Linked DNA regions of Homo sapiens: region 1 is linked to region 2. Evidence: promoter capture Hi-C in 16 types of primary human blood cells and fetal thymus (Javierre and others, 2016). All regions are on one chromosome and are shown on one strand. The core of a region is centred on a gene start or on the middle of the fragment in contact, and the rest is flanking DNA. Distances in the headings are between cores, read along the strand shown.

Evidence for each region. Contacts are between HindIII fragments. The CHiCAGO score rates a contact against its expected background, and 5 or more counts as called.
Region 1: a contact is called between the fragment with the promoter of GLE1 here and a fragment that was not itself captured in region 2, in 1 of 17 cell types (naive CD4 T cells). The highest score is 5.0, in naive CD4 T cells.

What each region holds. Positions count from the first base shown.
Region 1 is chr9:128,503,418-128,506,117 of GRCh38, reverse strand. It overlaps GLE1 (GLE1 RNA export mediator), which reads right to left and starts at 1,399. Exons shown (of 16, transcript NM_001003722.2): 1 at 1,214-1,399. The coding sequence starts at 1,312. RefSeq lists an enhancer at 999-1,158 and a silencer at 1,379-1,588. The HindIII fragment of the contact is 2,110 bases long and covers 82-2,191 here.
Region 2 is chr9:129,034,738-129,037,474 of GRCh38, reverse strand. It overlaps MIGA2 (mitoguardin 2), which reads right to left and starts at 849. Exons shown (of 16, transcript NM_001329990.2): 1 at 794-849. RefSeq lists an enhancer at 265-394 and a silencer at 735-864. The HindIII fragment of the contact is 679 bases long and covers 974-1,652 here.

The DNA of each region.
Region 1 (2,700 bases), core at 150-2,649, 530 kb after region 2:
CCCCTCGGCCTCCCAACGTGCTGGGATTACGGGCCTGAGCCACCACGCCTAGCCTTGCATGTGATTATTTTGATACAAGCTTACAAAATCTGGGACATTTAAAATAAAATAAATAAATAATAAAAGTAATGGATTACAACTCACTGAATAAAATAGAAAGCACCTCCTTACAGTAGAATGCCAACTAACAAATGCAGAAGGAATAGCGGATATAAAGAAACAGGATCTGGCAACGTCATAGAGGTATCGATTCATGTGGAAAACATCAATGAATGCTAAAGCCATGGAGGATTAAGGTTTGCCCAGAAAAAAGGATACTGGTATTATTACTTCCCAACAATTACTAAGGGAAAAATGACGAATTTTAAACGGAGAGACCAGGCAGATAATAACGTAACCAGGTGATCAAGATTAGCATCACCAGTGTTGGGATGGGTTGACATCTGTGTGCCTCCTCATGTGACTTACTGAGAAAGCCATGGCATCATTTCTGTGGTATTCCTGCCAAGAATGCTTAACCTTGGTCTGGTGGTTTGAAAGCACATATGCTGGCAGTCAACCTACAGAATGTAAGGTCTGTATTTTTCAAAACTGTCAACAACATAAAAGACAGGGAAATACTTTAGGATTGTTTCCCAAGAAGTCTGAGGATGCAGGACAACGCCTTATCTGTAGCTAACTAGCAGCGACTCGGGAATGGGAGCTCGGCCTTAACTCTCCACATCCCTCCACTTCTCGCGCAGAGCTTTGCAAATGCTAGGTACGGTGACCACGCCCCCATTCACTTTCCAGGTCTGCCAAATCAATCTAAAAATTTGGTCATTTCACTAGTAGCAATGGATTAGGTCGTGTCAATCGTTCGTCGCAAACTCTAGAGCTCCCAGCACATGAGACATACAGTAAGTTAACTGAACCTGGGGCCGAGATTGCTTTGACAACAGCAGAACGGAGAAGGCGCCCAACTGGCGGAGGGTAGCAATGAAGCCTTCAGAGCGCGGGGCACCTGTGAAGTCAGGGGAGCTCCCCGAAACGCTAAAATAGGCTGAAGAGGACAGAAACCCCAGGACAGAGGGATGTACACACAGAAGTCAAGAAATAAATGCAGGTTGTTAGACTGCACGGGTTCCCGGGAGCAGAACGTGCCAACGGCTAGGGAGAAGGTTTCGGTCGCGAGGGGCCGGAAAGGCCTACGTCCTCCGGGGCCACCGCTCACCTCGCGCCGCAGCAGCCAGTCGCGGTAGTAGCAAAGGCGACCTTTGTCGGAACTGCGTAGGGCCTTCAAGGTCTCCCAGCAGCGACCCTCAGACGGCATGGTTGGCTAAGGGGCAGCTTCTCTGACGCCCCCCTTCTGACCAAACAAGCCCTCGAATCAGCCGCCGGGAAGGCCACACAGGCTTCTGCTTCCGGGACGCGCGCGCAGCACAGCCCCGCCCCTAACGCCTGCACGCCCCACCTCCGGCGACGCTCCCGCGTTCCCGCCCTCCCACCAGTGCGCCTGCGCGCAGGGCTTGGCTGTCGGGGCACGTTCCGCAGAGGTAACCACCGCTCCCAATCCCCGGGGCTGCTGAAAATTTGTCTGTGCCTTGAGACTGTGCAGAAACTGGAACCCTCATACACTGCTCATGGGACTGTAAAATGAAGCACCTGCTGTGGAAGACAGTCTGGCAGTTCCTCAAAAGGTTAAACAATTACCATTTGACCCAGCAATTCTCCTAGGTAAATATATATATATATATAAAATACGCCAAAGAAATGAAACCTATGTATATATAAAAACTTGTCCATGAATGTTCACAGCAGTGTTATTCATAATAGCCAAAAAGTGAAAGCAACCCAAACGTCCATCCATTGGTGAATGGATAAATAAAATATAGTACTATGTGCGCGGTTCCCGAGTTCCCCCGCTTTCTGTGCACTGACCAAGTATCAGAGTGCCTTGACCGCCCTGTGACCCAGCCAGCTGCAAGTTTTTTCCTGCAGACTTGCAACCAAACACGGGCCTTGCATATCCCTAGGCACTAAGGATATCTAGGTTATTGCCCAAAACGCTGAAACTGACCCCTGCTTTTAGCCAAATTCCATAAACCCTCATATAAACTTCATACCCTGACCCCTCGCTGGGGATGTACCTAGGTGAAACACCGCTTCTCTCTGTCTGTCGCGAGAATTGCTGCAGCCCACTCTGTAAGCTTCCCTAATAAATGTTTTGGGTTTAATGCTGCTTTTTTGAGACAGAGTCTTGCTCTGTCCCCCAGGCTGGAGTACAGTGGCTCGATCTCGGCTCACTGCAACCTCCGCCTCCCGGGTTCAAGCGATTCTCCTGCCTCAGCTCCCCGTGTAGCTGGGACTACACGCGCCAGCCACCACGCCCAGCTATTTTGTATTTTTAGCAGAGGCGGGGTTTCACCATGTTGGTCAGGCTGGTCTCGAACTCCTGACCTCAGTTGATCCACCCACCTCGACCTCCCAAAGCGTTGGGATTACAGGCATGAGCCACTGCGCCCGGCCATAGTGCTTCTTTGGAATCCCAACCAGCCCTGTTTGGCAGGAGGAAACACCACATCTATATAATGGAATGTTATGGGGCCATAAAAATAAAGTGCTGATGATACGCTGCAACATCAATCTTGAAAGCATTATGCTGAGAGAAGCCAGTCATGAATGGCCACATGTTGGACAATTCCACTTATGTGAAATATC
Region 2 (2,737 bases), core at 64-2,563:
AGCCCACGGCAAGGTCCCCTACCAAATGGACACTTCTACTGCTGTGTAGGGCCTGGCCCCACTTGGGCAGCCATCTCTTGTGCCCTACAATCTTAGGCGGACACCTCCTCATTCCACCGTCACCACAGCACTTACAGCACCCTCAGCCTGGGTGCCTAAGCATATCATCCTACGCGCCTCCTCCCCTGCGCTAGACCACCCCACTAATGACTCTGGCCTGTGCACTCACTCATTCCGTCTGGACCCCAACAACGTCCCCGACTCCCTTGAGCCACTCTGCCCAGTCTCCTATTCACCCCATGCCGGACCCCTCAATAGTCCCACCATGCCGGGCACCGGGCATCCCCGCGTTGGACCTCAGCAATATCCCCGTCTTCAGAAATTGCTCACTCCACCCCAGGCATCTTGGGCAGCCCCTTCTTCTCTTGCCCCCACCCCGGAATATCATTGAAACTCACCCAGGTACCCTCTGGCGCCGCTCACGGCCCGCACGCCTGCTCCTTCCATCCCGGGTGCTCTCCCCGCCTCGGATCGGGTACCTGCGCGCCTGCTCCAATCCCCGCCACGTTCCAGGCCCGGGCATCACCTCCCTGACCCAAGTACCTTCTCGTTCCGCTCCCAAGCAAGGCACCCTCTCGCACCGTCCCCGGCCCGGGTACCCACTCATTCCAACCCCGACACCTTCCTGGTCCTGTTGGGCCCGGACACCTGCGCCTACTCGGTCCTCCGCTCAAGTCCCGGCCCTGCCGCGCTGCCCGCCCGCCTTGGGGGCTCGGCCGGGGCCGATACTCACCCGGGATGCCATCGCTGCGGAAGGGCAGCGTCTCCTTCCCCGGCGGCTGCGCAACCAAACCGGCCGCCCGGGGGCGTGGCCTAGCGCCAAGCCCCCACCCTCTTCTGGCCAATGAGCATCGCTGAGTCTCTCAGGGCCGCCGCAGCCTCTGGCCAATTAGGCGGGTCATGTGACCAAGCTTATATTCCGCCTCTCCCGCCCTCTTCCCCTCCTCCTAGTGCGGTTGAAGCGCGAAAGTGGTCTCTTCTCTTCTACTATTGGTCATTCAGATTAGATCGACATGGGCGGCTGGGTGGGGCGGGGCCATTCTTAAAGGGGCTGAAGCGGAGCAGTCAGACCTCCAAGGGGCTTTCTTGGAGTACGCCAAAGCAGGCTGAGCCCTCGTATTAGGATCCTCTATTCTTGTTCCACACAAGGACAAATCCTTCCCACTCTCCAAGCGCCCATTTTCAAATACTACCGCCCCTGACTTCCCGCAGCATGCTCTTATACTGTCGCCACTCTCCCCCTTGTTCTGGAGTTGTTTGCAAAAGTGCCAGGTCTCGCCGCTAGACAGTGTCTCTCTGAGAGCTGGAGTCAAGGGGTCTTCAGTTCTGGCCACCTATCTGGGTCTTACACTAAATACCAGGATTGAGATCAGGCCGACCTGAGATAGAATCAAGTGTTGCCACTTCAGCTCTCTAGAGCTTACCCCTCTATGAAATAGGGATGAGGCCGGGCGCGGTGGCTCACGCCTGTAATCCTAGCAGTTTGGGAGGCCGAGGTGGGTGGATCACGAGGTCAGGAGTTCGAGACCAGCCTGGCCAACCTGGTGAAACCCTGTCTCCACTAAAGATTAAAAAAAAAAATTAGCCAAGCTTGGTAGCACACACCTGTAATCCCAGCTACTCAGGAGGCTGAGGCAGGAGAATCTCTTGAACCCGGGAGGCAGAGGTTGCAGTGAGCTGAGATCCACCCATTGCACTCCAACCTGGGCCAAAGGGCGAGACTCCGTCTCAAAAAGAAAAAAAGAAATAGGGATAAAATCTTCCCTTTCCCAAATCATAGGGCTTTGGTGAGGATGGAAAGAGGACGGTGTATCAGCCCTTCCATAACTGCGAAGAGCTGGGCACAACTACGTTTTAAAATTGTAATCGTCGGCCGGTAGCAGTGGCTCATGCCTCTATTCCCAGCACTTTGGGAGGCTGAGGTGAGTGGATCACATGAGGTCAGGAGTTCGAGACCAGCCTGGCCAAAATGGTGAAAACCGGTCTCTACTAAAAATAAAAAAGCTAGCTGGGCGTGGTGGCACACACCTATAATCCCAGCTACTTGGGAGGCTGAGGCAGGAGAATTGCTTGAGCCGGGAGGAGGAGATTGCAGTTAACCAAGATCACGCCACTGCACTCCAGCCTGGGCAACAGAGCCAGACTCCATCTCAAAAAAAAAAAAAAAAAAAAAGCCCGGGAGCAGTGGCTCACGCCTGTAATCCCAGCACTTTGAGAGGCCAAGGCAGGTGGATCATGAGGTCAGGAGATCGAGACAATCCTGCCCAACATGGTGAAACCCCATCTTTACTAAAAATATAAAAATTAGCCCAGCATTGTGGCGTGTGCCTGTAGTCCCAGCTATTCAGGAGGCTGAGGCAGCAGAATCGCTTGAAACTGGGAGGTGGAGGTTGCAGTGAGCCGAGATTGCGCCACTGCACTCCAACCTGGGTGACAGAGCAAGACTCCATTTCAAAAAAAAAAAAAAAGGAAAATTACAATTGTCGGTAAAGCCACATTCCTTCATTCATTCAACTAATTAAGTGTGCCAATCCTTTGGCTGGACATGGGAGCTCAGTGGTGGACAAGAGACAGGTATGTGGTGGCACCAGGGAGCTCATTGTCTGGGGAGCAGATACTTAATCACAATCCCCTGTGATGGTTACTCTAATGGGGGAATGTGGGATACCAAGGAGAT